Regions from separate parts of the Homo sapiens genome. Here regions 2 and 3 are each linked to region 1. The links are contacts of gene promoters, found by promoter capture Hi-C in human tissues and cell types (Jung and others, 2019). All regions are on one chromosome and are shown on one strand. Each heading gives the region's core, a stretch centred on a gene start or on the middle of the fragment in contact. The rest is flanking DNA. Distances are from core to core; before and after follow the strand shown.

Region 1 (4,554 bases), core at 643-3,142:
CACTGCCCTCATGCCCCGGGGACTGGGGCGGCCCTGCAGGAACCAGTTGGGTCGGAGATCAAGGTGTGGGACAAAGAGAAAAGCTTCAAAGCTTGAGATGAACCGTTGCACGTGCATTTTAGAGGTAGCTCCTTTGCCCCTTCCCTCGCCAAGCTTGCATGAGGACAGGCACTCCTACTCCTGACCCCTGAGAAAGTACATGGGCATGATCAGAGGCTAGGTCTGTCCTTGACACCCACAGGAGACTTGCCCTGGGGAAGGCTTTTTATTCTGTTGTGTCATAGAATCCTTTGGCATCCTGGTAAGGTCCGTAGACCCCTTTTTATATTTTTTTTTATTTTTGAGACAGAGTCTCACTCTATCACCCAGGGAGTGCAGTGGTGCAATCTCAGCTCACTGCAACCTCCACCTCCTGGGTCAAGCAATTCTGCCTCAGCCTCCTGAGTAGCTGGGACTACAGACACATCCCACCACGCCCGGCTAATTTTTGCATTTTTAGTAGAGATGGGGTTTCACCATGTTGGCCAGACTGGTCCGGAACTCCCAACCCTAGGTGATCCGTCTGCCTTGGCCTCCCAAAATTCTGGGATTACAGGCGTGAACCACCACGCCCAGCCACAGACCGCTTTTCAGAACATAGACATTAAATCCATAAAATAAAACACTAGGATTACAAAGGAGACCAATGATCCTGAAATAGGCATCAAAATCACTTTAAATATCTTTCATATAATGACAATATATGCTTCCTAATTAAATAACAAGATTTCATGGCAGGTCTCTAACTATCATAATTTTGAAGTTGTGATAACATGTAAGATATTTTGAGACATCCCCAGTGGTTTAATTGGGAAAAAAAATAACTGTGACTTTTGCTGAGACAAAAATCACATCTTTGCTTACATTCATGATTGAGGGAAATGCTAAATCGCAGTTAAGGCTAGGAAAAGTGAAAGTGTAGTATTTTCTCCATCACTATTCACAAACCCACAGAATTCCATCCACAGCTCTGGGGGTTCCAGGGACTCCAGATTAAGAACTCCACACTCTGAGACCTTATGACTGCCTTCCAGAGGGTCCCTCTGACACTTTAGTGATGGTTTTCAAAGCAGCCAAATCTGTGCCTCCCTGAAGCCAGGGAGGAAAAGCTGCTGAGGGAGGGGGCGGGGGCTGAGCGGGAACATTCATCTGTGTGGGCTCAGGACGCCTGCAGCAGGATCCACAGTGCAGGCTCCCAGGGCCTGGCACAGACTGACTGATTCCAACGCCCAGTGCCACTCCTGGGAGTATGCATTTTATTTTTAAAAATTTATTATTATTATTTTTCTTTTTGTGGAGATGGGGTCTCACTACGTTGCACAGGCTGGTCTTGAGCTCTTGGGCTCAAGCAATCCTCCTGCCTCTGCCTTCCTAAGTGCTGAGATTACAGGTGTGAACCACCACATGCCAGAATCTGCATTTTAAACAGAAGCCCAAGTAATAACTTAAACAAACATTCTAGAATTTCCCTGGTGCTTTGTCCCAATCAGGGACTCAAGATAGTGGGAGAGGGCCTGGGATGCTCCTCACACCTCCTCTGGCTAGAGTGCCAGCGGCATCATTGCCAGGAGATAAGCCTGCAGCTCCTGGCCCCTCCAGGGCCCCTCATGTATAACTGATGCCTGAAACATGAGGCCATGCTGCCTCTTTGCAGGGAAACCTGAGAAGAGGAGTGTGTGGCCGGATTGATGGGCCGGGAACTCGTCGCCTTCCTTCACCCGTCTCTCTCCCCCAAACTTCACCCACCTCCACATTCAATCTCAAACCAAGAAGCCCCGCCTGCTGTCAGGTCTAGGAAGGGAGGCCAGCCACCATGAGGGCAGGAAAGCAGCCCAGGCTGAAGGCGTGCATACAGGAGCACGCTGCGTGAGCCTGTGCAGGACCCCAGCAGTGCTGCTGACCATGAGCCACCAGGTAAAGGGCCTGAAAGAGGAAGGTGAGTCCACGTCCTGATCCTGCGGGGCCCGCCCACAGGGTTCCTGGGCAGCAGCAGGGGATGGGGGAAGCACATATGGTGTTCAGAGGCATAGGGAGGAGCTGGGTTTGAGTCCAGGGCCTGTCCCCTGTGCGCTGAGCGACCTCGGCTGGTTATTCAACCTCTCTGATCCTCACGCATGAGATGGGGGTAGTCATCACCTCCTTGCAGGGCTACTGGAAGGATTCAAGACAACCTGTGCACAGCACCTGTGTTCAGGCCAGCACTGGAGACTGTCACGGCCGATGCATGCTCCTCAGAGCCTGCTGGGGCGTCTCAGCCACCTATTGTCTCGGTTAGGGTTGCCTGTTCCGAGCAAGCCCCTCAGCAGATTTCTATCTGTCTCTGTCTCTGTGCAGGGCAGGGGGTGGGGGATGTTCTGACCTCATGACTGACAGTATCAGACAAATGTGACAGGCAGGGGACTCTATAATTTGCTGAGTAAAATCATTGGAGCTGGGTCCCAGTTTGAGGCAGCCACAAATCAGCTGAGGGGTCCCACAGTGACCGGGGGTCTGCAGGGAGGGGGACTCACCAGAGGCCAGCCATTTGTCAGCAATCCTGTCTCTTACAGCACGAGGCGGAGTGAAAGGGCGGGTGAAGAGCGGCTCTCCACACACAGGTGAGATGGGGTGGTGGGGTCTCTGGGGAGCCTGCAGTGCCTGGGTGCCCTCTGCTTAGCCCAACAGTCCAGCCACCCATCCAACATTCTCCTTCATCTCCTTCCCTCTCATTCAACACCCTGCATGGAGCCTTCCTGGGAGGCAAGGTGTTTAACATGGGAGGGGGCAGAGTACCACTCAGAGAAGGTGCTGCTCAGCCCTCGGTGTCAGGGGAGACTCCCAGGGTTAGTGACACTCTGAGCTGAGCCTTGGGAAGCAGTGAACATTCACCAGACAGAGGGCAGGGAAGCTCGGTGCAGGCTTCTGGCGGGTGGTGTGGCCAGATTCACATCCAGGCCCCCGGACTCTAGGAGGAACACTCTTAACCTCCAAAAAGTAGTAGGCATAATGGGTGCTCCATCACCTTCCCACTGGGAATGTGACCACAGCTCTCCCGTGAGCCGGTGAGGGAGCCAACTTGCTCCAGGAGAAGTGGGAGAGCCCAAGGAAGCCATAGGCGGGAGAGAAAACCCTTGGTTGAGACTGAGGGTTCAGGGGAGAGGGGCAGAAGCCACACTCACAGGCTGGGCATCTTCATGTCACAAAATATTATGGATGCGATGCTGTTTTCTCCCCCTTCACGTCCCAGGCAGGGCTGGGTCCTGCGCCCCACACTAGTAGGCAAGAAACCAGAATCTTGGGGAGTGATGGGGTTCTGGGGGGTTGGAAGAGATCTCCTTCCTCCCCCATTCTGGGAGGGAGGGCCCTTTCCACTCCCTCCTGTGGGAGGGCCCTGTCCTGGCCCCACTCTGGCCAGTAGGGAGCTGGCCCCAGGAGCCACTTCATCTGCCCTTTCCGCTCCTGTGACCCGCTGCTGTCTGGTTGTCGGGAGCCTGAGCTTCAGTGAGGCCGCTGTGTTACAAGGGGAGAGACCCAGGAGCAGGAGGCAAGGAAGAGCTGGGCAGAGGCTGGCAGGGGGTGCAGCCATGGCATCTCAACAGCCCTTCCTGGCCCCTATCCCGGAACTTGCCTCAGCCACTGTCCCTTCTTCCTACCCCACCTGCCTGCCTCATCCACTCTTTATCTCAATCCAAAGATGAAGGAGCAAATGTGAGAAAGTTCTATGCCCCAGGGTGGCCAGACGAGAAACCTTCCTCCCGGGGGTCGGGCCACGGTGCTCCCGTAGTGACCACTGCCTGTAGGATGCTCAGGCTGGTTCTCCACACCCCACTCCCCTCGTAGTCATCCAGATGCCGTCCCTTCCGCACCCAGCCTGGCCTCCCTCTGCCTCTGCTGCAGGGCTGTGCTGTGCGGGACTCCCCTGTGAGCAGTAGTCCTTAGTAGGACTGAAATGGAAGACCATTTTGCCTACAACACAAACCCTTTCCTACTGAAATATTCCACGTTGCCGCTGCCGTTTTCCCTTTCCCATAGAACACAGGAAATTGGTCAGAATTTTCACTTCACAGATCTAAGTGGTGAAGGGGTGCAGTAAAGTTAAACATTGGGAATATATTGAATTAACTGAAACCCAGCCCCATGAAGGTTTCCATTTTAAATCTCCTCTGGAGTCACCTGCGACGGGACCTGATATTCTCATCCTTCCCTTTATACTCTACCAGGAGGGAATAAAAGTTTAAGAATACAATGTTCTTTTCTCAGAATAGCTACAGTTTGTTACTGTGTTCCTTGAAAAGAAGGATGAGAACTCTCCCTCCTCCTGTATCATTTGGTAAGTGCACTGAACTGTTGAGATCACGGGACTGGAGGGCTGCCGCAGCCTCTCCTCGGCCTGTGTTTTGCACTGTGAATTCTCTGACCGAGTCAGGTGCTACATAGGAGGAGGCCTGTTACATTTAGGAGAGCGTGTGCTGGGCTTGGAGGCCTTCCTAGCAAGACAGCTGCCTTTCCAGTTCCTAAATTATGCATTATGTGGAG
Region 2 (4,554 bases), core at 1,392-3,891, 230 kb after region 1:
TTAGCGTTTCTCGTATGCTTTTAATTTATGTATTATTTTGCTTCACGCTTCACCTCCCCTTTTGTGTGCTTTTAAACAAATCTTCTGCCAGGTGCGGTGGCTCACACCTGTAATCCTAGCACTCTGGGAGGCCAAGGTGGGCGGATCACCTGAGGTCAGGAGTTCAAGACCAGCCTGGCCAACATAATGAAACCCCGTCTACCCCGTCTCTGCTAAAAATACAAAAATTAGTCGGGCATGGTGGCGCATGCCCGTAGTCCCAGCTACTCAGGAGGCTGAGGCAAGAGAATCACTTGAACCCAGGAGGCAGAGGTTGCAGTAAGCTGAGATCACGCCATAGCCTGGGCAACAGAATGAGACCCCATCTCAAAAAAATTAATTGATTAATTAAATGAAATTAAAATAAAATAAATTTTAAAATCTTCACTTACACCAAAGTCAAGAAGATATTTTAGAATTTTTCTTGTTTGTGGCTTTTATATTTAGGTCCACAATCCAACTAAAATTTATTTTTGTGTACAGTGTAAGCTAGAGATCAAATTTAATTTTTTTTCATATGGTTAGCCAATTGGCCCAGCACCATTTACTGAAATGAGTATATTTTCCCCCACTTCATTGAAGTGAAATCTTTGTTATAAATCAAATGTTCATATATGTATGTGTCTGTCCTGGATTCTCTATTCTGATCCATTTGTCTTTTTATCTAGCCTTATACCCGTGCCACATTATCTTAATAACTTTAGATTTATAGTATGTTTTGCTATGTAGTATGTATGGCAAGTCATCCAATTTAATTCTTCCTTTCAAATTTTTTTATTTTTATTTTTATTTTTTTATAGAAATAGGGCCTCACTATGTTACCCAGGCTGGTCTTGAACTTCTGGCCTGAAGTGATCCTCCTGCCTTAGCCTCCCAAAGTGCTCGTATTACAGGCTTGAACCACTACACCCGGCCTGTTCAACTTAGTTCTTCACAATTATGTTGGCTACATGTGGTCCTTTTCATTTCAATACAAATTTTATACTCAGTTTATTAATTTCTATTTTTTAAACTGGCAGGCAGATTGCCTGAGCTCAGGAGTTCAAGACCAGCCTGGGCAACACAGTGAAACCCCATCTCTACTAAAATGCAAAAAATTAGCCAGGCATGGTGGCATGCGCCTGTAGTCCCAGCTACTCAGGAGGCTGAGGCAGGAGAATTTCTTGAACCCTAGAGGCAGAGGTTGCAGTGAGCCAAGATCACACCACTGCACTATAGCCTGGGCAACAGAGCAAGACTCCATCTCCCAAAAAAAAACACAAAAAAACCTGCTGGATTTTCATTGGGATTACATTAAATTTACAGACTAATTAATGGAGAATTGATGTCTTTAAAATATTGTGTGTTTCAATCTATGAATATTGTATATCCCTCCATTTATTTAGATCTTTTAAGACTTCTCTTAATAATGTTTTATAGACTTCTGTATGAAAGTTTTGCACCTATTTCATTTATTTCTATTTGATTATTTTGTGATATTATAAATAGTATCATTTTCTTAATTTTATTTGTTGTGAATATATAGAAACAATGGATTTTTGTATAATTACCTTGTATCCAGCAATCTTGCTTAGCCACTTATCCTTAGATTATCTTGAATTTTCTTAGCTACATAGTTATGTCATCTGCAAAAAAAGGACAGTTTCATTTCTTCACTTGCAGTCCTTACTTTTTTATTTTTACTTATTTTTCTTGCTTAAATGCACTGGCTGCAACCTCCAATACAATGTTGAATAGAAGTAGTGAGAGTGGACATCTTTGTTTTGCTCCTGATTCTGGAGGGCAAACTTTTAATATTCCATCATTAAGCATCGTATTTGGTTTATAGATATCCTTCTATTCCTAATTTTCTAAAAATGTTTAAAAATTATAAATAGATGCCAAAATTTGTGAAATATTTTTCTTCATGTATTAAGTAATCAAATTACTTTCTCCATTATTTCGTTAATGTGCTGAATTATATTAATTACATGTCTAATTTTAAGCCACTGCTTTAGCTAATTGTATGTTTAATTGTAAATGGCCATATATTCTTTTTTTTTTTTTTTTGAGTGCAATGGCACGATCTCAGCTCACTGCAACCTCCCCTCCCTGGTTCAAGTGATTCTCTCGCCTCAGCCTCCTAAGTAGCTGGGATTACAGGCTCACACCACCATGCCTGGCTAATTTTTGTATTTTTAGTACAGATGAGCTTTCACCATGTTGGCCAGGCTGGTCTGGAACCCCTGACCTCAAGTGATCTGCTCTCCTTGGCCTCCGAAAGTGCTGGGATTACAGGCATGAGCCACCATGCCTGGCCTTATTCTTTATACAGGGTATACCAATTATTAACACAGAGCCCATTTTCTCTTTCTCTCTCTGCACTACTCTCTAAGAAGGCACTCACTGGCCCTCGCCCTTACCCGCTTCTCCTGGAGGAGCTAGGCTTTCTGCAGACCACCTCGGTACCTCACACTGCTACACTGGCTTTGGCTACCTTCTAGGAGCAGTGGAGGGAAAAACACAAGAACAAACACAAATTAATCTCTCACTAAGTCATTCTACTTTGACTCTAACCCATCTTTTACCATTCTATTCTAACCATTAAGATTCAAACCCAGCTGGGCTCCTTAGCTCTGGGTCCCCTCTGTTGGAAATCCAGAACAGTCCTCGTGAGTCCTCTGTTCAGGAGCCCCTGACCACTCACTTCCAAAGGTGAAGATACTCAAAGCTTCCCTCCTTGCCTCACCTTGGCAGGGGGTCACAGAGTGGCAGCCTCAGGAGGGTGGGAGGTCCTGGGTTTGAAGCTGCAGAGACTGCCAAGCAGAATGGGTAGGAGGGTCTCAGAGACCCCCACTGGAGACAGAACGGAAGAGAATTCATGGCTCTAAAGATGCAGGAGAGGCTGCCTAGCAGGGCAGGAACAGCAACAAGACGGTTTTATTTGTATACATTCCTTTTTGAGTATTTTATTCCTTGAGAGAGAAGGCGCCAAGTGTTTATGGGGGAAGGAAAGCTGGCCGTCCAGTAGCAGATTTGCTGTTCCCTGGGGCTCAGCATCCCAGCATCTTCATTCTCCAAAGCCTCTCCTGCCCCTCCCCTGCCAGCCTGGGAGCGAGCGCTGCCCTGATGCACCCTCATCTGGTGGGGTGTGAGGAGGAGGCTCGGGCTAGGCTGCCGCAGCTCCGGGCAGTCATCCCATGAGTCCAGTTCCTGAAGGGCTGATTCGTGTAGGGCAGAAAAACCCTCTGGCTTGGCTCCTGCCCCTGCTGCCTCTCTGGGGGTTCCACCCATGTAGGAGCCTGCCCCCTCCACGCACCCACCCGCTCACCCAGAACTGAGTTCACCTTTAGGTGGGTGGGGGAGGCTCCAGCCACTCTCAGGCTGGCACTGCCTCAAGCCCAGCCAGCGCTGGCTTCTGTGGTGAAAGCTGGTTTGTCTGGGCTGCTCCCCAGGGCCTTCCTGGAGCTGGGCCTGGAGGCTGACCTTGCCAAGACAAACTGTGGCTGCCGGTGGAATGTGGTCGAGTGGCTGAGCAGGCCCAAACCTGGCAGGTCTGTCCATGGTGCCCCTGCAGGTTCCACAACACAGAGCCCTACAGAGTCAGGTGGGGCCAGGAGCAGGTACCGAGAGACTTCTGGGCATCTCTCTGTCCCTTGTTGAGTGAGGACGGGGCAGCATCTCTTTTGGTCTCAACTGAAAGTGTAAAAGGCTATCATCAAGTGTGAAGGTTGACAGAATTCCTCAACCCACTTCCTCTGGGAAGCAGCTGTGCAGGAGAAGACATGGTGGGGAGGGGGTGCGGGGAGGAGTGTGTGCCTGTGTGGGTGTGGGCATAAAGCAGGAGCTGCCAGGGGAGGAGAAAGAGCTCTGGCAAGACCTCTTCTTCCCTTAACACAGCCCGGTGGGATGGGGCTACGTTGCTGTTAGAGCCAGAGTTTAATTTTTTTTTTTTTGAGACAGGGTCTTGTTCTGTTGCCCAGGTTGGAGTACAGTGGCACTGTCTCAGCTCACTGCCGCCTCGACCTCCTGAGCTCAAGCAATCCTACCTCAGCCTCCTGAGTAGCTGGGACTACAGGCATGTGCCACCATACCCGACTAATTTTTCTATTTTTTGTAGAGACAGGGGTCTCACTATGTTGCCCAGGATAGTCTTGAACTCCTGCCCTCAAGCAATCCTCCTACCTCTGCCTCCCAAAGTGCTGAGATTACAGATGTGAGCCACTGTGTCCAGCCAGATCCACAATTTGTTCAGCCCATACCATCAGCCCATTATTTTAGCGGGGGTTCCCTGGACGCAGAGCCTGAAATGGGGATTTGTGTGCACATGAAAGGGCTCTCTGGACAAAAAGGAGAGAAGAAAGCAGAACAGGGTAGGGGAAAGAGCTGGGCAAGTCTCTGCAGGAGGCTAGCACAGTCCCACGCGGAGCCTAAGCATGAAGGGCACCTCAGTTGGACCCTGCCATGACAAGGAGATGCCTCTAATATCCCTGAGCCTGTCAGCCACTGGTTGGAGGCTGCCAGAGGAGAGTGGAG
Region 3 (4,554 bases), core at 1,320-3,819, 200 kb after region 1:
GGCTGGGAAAGATAGCGTCTAAATGGGCATCCCTCAACCTAGGTAAGACTCAGAGGGTTCTATCATGAAAAGAAAGGAAGGAAGCTAGATAACGGGGACAGCCAGCATTCTCTGCTGCGGACATCTGTCTGGCCACTTCTACTGTCCTTCTTCCTACGAACAAACCAAGTTTTTCTCTGTCCGTGGGTACCAGATGCCTCTCTCTCTTAAGCAAACCCCTGTAATCTATGGTATTCCTTTTAGAACAGGGAACTGGCACAGAATCCAGGCCTCCATCTGCCTGTGACTTGATGGGCCTTGTGCTTCTGGGATGTGAACGTGAATTCTTAGGAATAGAGCTAAAGCCAGGAGTACCTCACCTTTCACTTGCCACTTCACATTGTGTGTGCAGAGCTTCAACACACAGAATGTGAGTTTCTTTATCAGTTGCATGCTAGGTTGGGCCCCAGTCAAACTTAATAGTTCTATGCATTCTTGCTAGTAGGGTATTGAAGTTGCCAGTTATTATTGTTTGTTCCTTCAATTCTGTTAGTTTTTGCTTCATGCATTTTGGAGCTGTTATTAGATACATGTGCTTTTTTTTTTTTTCTTTTGAGACAGGGTCTCACTCCAGTTGACCAGGCTAGAGTGCAGTGATGCAGTCTCAACTCACTACAGCCTTAGGGCTCACTACAGCCTCAACCTCCCAAGCTCAGCTGATTCTGCCACCTCAGCCCCCTGAGTAGCTGGGACTACAGGTGCATGCCACCACACCCAGTTAATTTTTTGTATTTTTAGTTGAGACGGGGTTTCACCATGTTGCCTGGGCTGGTCTTGAGCTCCTGGATTCAAGCAATCTGCCTGCCTCAGCCTCCCAACATGCGGGGGTTATGGGCATGAGCCACCACACCCGGACTGTTATTAGATACACATGCTTATAATTGTTATTTCTTTCTGATGATAGACACTTTTATCATTATAACATGTCCTTCTTTGTCTCTCATAATTTTTATCTTAGTGTCTATTCATAAATTAGTATAGCCACTCCAGCTATCTTTCAGTTAGGGTTCACATGTTATCTCTTTTTCCATCCCTTTATTTTCAAAGCCTTTTGTACATTTGAATTTAAAGTATGTCTCACATAGACAGCATATAGTTGGATTGTGTTGTAGTTTTCTTTTTTAATCCATTCTGCCAATCTCTTCCTTTTAATGAAGCATTTCATCCATTTATATTTAATGTAATTGCTGATAGAACAGGATTTATGTCTGCCATTGTGCTTTGTGTTTTCTTTTTCTTTTATTTTTTCTTTTTCTTATTTTTTTTTGAGACGGAATTATAAAGAGTTCCCATATATCCCCTATCCCCACAAATGTGCAGTTGTCTTTTAAATTAGATAGGAAAACAAAATCATTACAAACAAAAATACATTTATGCTGTCTTTTATGTTTACCTATGTAGTGACTTTTACCAGTGCTCTTTATCTGTTCATGTTAATTCATATTACTGTCTTGTCTTGTTTCATTTCAGACTGAAGGACTCCCTTTAGTATTTCTTGTAGGACAAACCTGTTAGTGATGAATCCTCTCAGTTTTTGTTTATCTGAAAATGTCTCAATTTCTCCTTCATTTTTGAAGTTGATCATTTTAGAAGTTGATAGTTTTGCTGGACATGCAATTTTTTGGTCGATAGTTGTTTTCTTTTAACACAATATATCATCTCACTGCCTTCTGTCCTTCATGGTTTCAGAAGTTATGTGGTGATCTTATTAAGGATTCCTTATATATGACGAGTTACTTCTCTCTCTCTCTCATTGCTTCTCAGATCCTTTCTTTTTCTTTGGCTTTCAAAAGTTTGAGTATGATGTGTCTTTGTATAGATCATACACTTTGTGTTCATACTACTTGGAGTTTACTGAGCTTCTTAAGATGTGCTCAATAATGTTTTTCATTACTGAGCACATTTAGGAAATTTAGGGGCATTTTCTTGAATATTTTTCTGTCCTGTTCCATCTCTACTCTCCTTCTCAGATTCCCATTATACATATACTGGTATGCTTGATGGCTCCCACAGGTCTCTTAAGCTCTGTTCATTTTTCTTCATTCTTTTTTCTTTCTGCTTCTGAGCTAGATAATCTCAATTGGCCTATATTCAAGTATACTGATTTTTTTTCGTCCCACCAAATGAGATATGTTGTTGAGTTCCTCTAGGTCAGGGGTGTCCAATCTTTTGGCTTCCGTGGGCCATATTGGAAGAAGACTTGTCTTGAGCCACACATAAAATACATTAATACTAGCGATAGCTGATGAGAAAAAAAAAAAAAAAGCAAAAACATCTCATAATAAGAAAGTTTACAAATTTGCAGGCTAATTCAAAGCCAACCTGGGCTGCATGTGCCCCGTGGGTCGCAGGTTAGAGAAGCTTGTTCCAGGTATTTTTAAATTTTACTTATTGTTCTTTTCTACTTCAGAATTTCATGGGTTTTTAAAAATATAATTTGAAATCCTTTATTGATTTTTTTGGTGTGACTTCATTCTCATACTTTTCTTGAATTTTTTAGACATAGTTTCCTTTAGTTCTATGAACATATTTATAATTGCTCATTTAAAGTCTTTATCTATGCCAGCTGCAGTGGCTCACTCCTATAATCCCAGCATTTTGGTAGGCAGAGAAGGGCAGATTGCTTGAGCCTAGGAGTTTGAGACCAGCCTGGGCAACATGGTGAAACCCTGTCTCTACAAAAACCTACAAAAATTAGCTGGGCATGGTGGCTCATACCTGTAGTCCCAGCTACTTGGGAACTAAGGTGGGAGGATCACTTGAACCTGGGAGGTCAAGGCTTCAGTGAGCCATGATCACACCACTGCACTTCAGCCTGGGCAACAGAGCAAGACCCTGTTCCAAAAATAAATTAATTAATAAAGTATTTGTCTAAAAATTCTAACCTCTGGGCTTCCTCAGGGATAGTTCCTGTTGGCTGCTTTATTACAATGTATGGGTCTTACTTTCCTGTACCTTGCATGTCTCATAATTGTTTGTTGAAAACTGGACATTTTAATCATATAATGTTGCACTCTGGCAATCAGATCCTCCCTCCCAATTTTGTTCTTATTGCTATTGCTGTTTGTTTGTTTAGTGATTTTCTTGGACTAATTATATAAAGTCTATATTTCCTGTCATGTATAATCACTGAAGTTTCTGCTCTTGGCTTAGTTATCAGGCCATGATTGGACAGGCATTTCTTTAAATGCCTTGAATGCCAATAAGTGTTCAACCCATTGCCAAAAGGTTCTGTATGTGTGTTAAGACATGCCTTCAGTGCTCCAGCGATTTACAACTCTGCCTTGACCTTCACTTCCTGCTTGCTCAGGGCCTTGGGATAAACCAGAGGTGAGAGACCAGGGGCTTTCCATGCCTTTTTTGGGCATGTGCCTCTCCCTGCACATATGCATAGCTTTCTAGATCTCCAGGAATATGTCAGAGCTTTTCAGAGCCCCTGTGAACATCTTATTCCCCACTTTTTCCTTTAAAATATTATGGCCAAACTTTTATTTGCCCCCAACTTGTATTGCTGCCTCATGTAGCTGCAATGTTAAGCAATTGCCGCTGGCTGTTTTCAACAAACACCCTGAAGATAGGGTCTTTCCCACTAAGTAAGTTCTGAATCGGGTCAAATAACAAGTTCTGCAAATAAAGCTGTCAGGGAGTTGCTAGAAAGGTTAAAGAGTGAAAACTGACTGGGAATACAGCTTGTTGAGAGGCTCCAAACCCACTCTACCCCTTCCTATGGTTGCTAGCTTGCTAGTTTTCACAACTACAATAGTGGTTGCAAGGTAGCTGGTCTTCAACAGGGCTGGGGAGTAGGGGATGGGAATAGGGCAAATTAAAACACCACAAAGCTTTCTGTTCTTATTACAACTCAGCCATTTTTCTTGCCTCAATGTTCCTTGAGTTGTTGCACACATGTTGTTAATTTTTAGAGTTCTGAGAAAGTTGATTTTGACCATGTTTGCCAGTGTTCTTGTTTCTTTATGGAAGAATGGATTTTCAGAGGTCTTTACTTAGCAATTCCCAAAGTCCTGTCCCTGTAATTGTTATTTCTTACCTGGGCACAAGTTAAAAGTGCCTTGGGGGCTTTAGTCCAGCATTCATCCAGTCACAGTAATTTTTGACTCTTGAATTCTATCATGAATCAATCAGCACCTGTTGTGGGGCTGGGACTATGATGGATGCTTGGGAGAAGAGAGGCTTAAACAATGATCCCTGCCCTCTGAGAGCTTACAGAGCAGTTGAGGAGACAAATATAATTATGTAAACAACAATTTATAATTTTGAAAAAAATTCGTGTACTTGAAGAAAGGTCAGTAGAGATTATCTATAATTACATAATAATAAGAAGAAATAGAAAACAATGTAAGGCTTGAAGACCACACTATCCAATAGTACTTTCTGCAATGATGAAAATATTCTGTACCAACCAATATGGTAGCCAATAGCCACACATATTTATTGGGCACTTGAACTGTAGCTACCGTGACTGAGGAATTGAATATTTAATTGTGTTTAATTTAAATC

The links. Contacts are between HindIII fragments. The study calls those that stand out against the background at their distance.
Region 2: a contact is called between a fragment that was not itself captured here and the fragment with the promoter of TMC2 in region 1, in 1 of the 25 tissues and cell types used here (liver).
Region 3: a contact is called between a fragment that was not itself captured here and the fragment with the promoter of TMC2 in region 1, in 1 of the 25 tissues and cell types used here (H1 embryonic stem cells).

What each region holds. Positions count from the first base shown.
Region 1 is chr20:2,534,681-2,539,234 of GRCh38, forward strand. TMC2 (transmembrane channel like 2) reads left to right here and starts at 1,893. Exons shown (of 20, transcript NM_080751.3): 1 at 1,893-1,975; 2 at 2,589-2,636. The coding sequence starts at 1,942. All of the region lies in intron 2 of LOC105372504 (a long non-coding RNA gene), which reads right to left. The HindIII fragment of the contact is 10,824 bases long and covers 1-4,554 here.
Region 2 is chr20:2,764,991-2,769,544 of GRCh38, forward strand. No RefSeq gene overlaps it. Among named protein-coding and RNA genes, the nearest start is that of CPXM1, 33 kb to the right of the region's middle. The HindIII fragment of the contact is 8,792 bases long and covers 1-4,554 here.
Region 3 is chr20:2,731,527-2,736,080 of GRCh38, forward strand. All of the region lies in intron 6 of EBF4 (EBF family member 4), which reads left to right. Among named protein-coding and RNA genes, the nearest start is that of EBF4, 41 kb to the left of the region's middle. The HindIII fragment of the contact is 4,101 bases long and covers 520-4,554 here.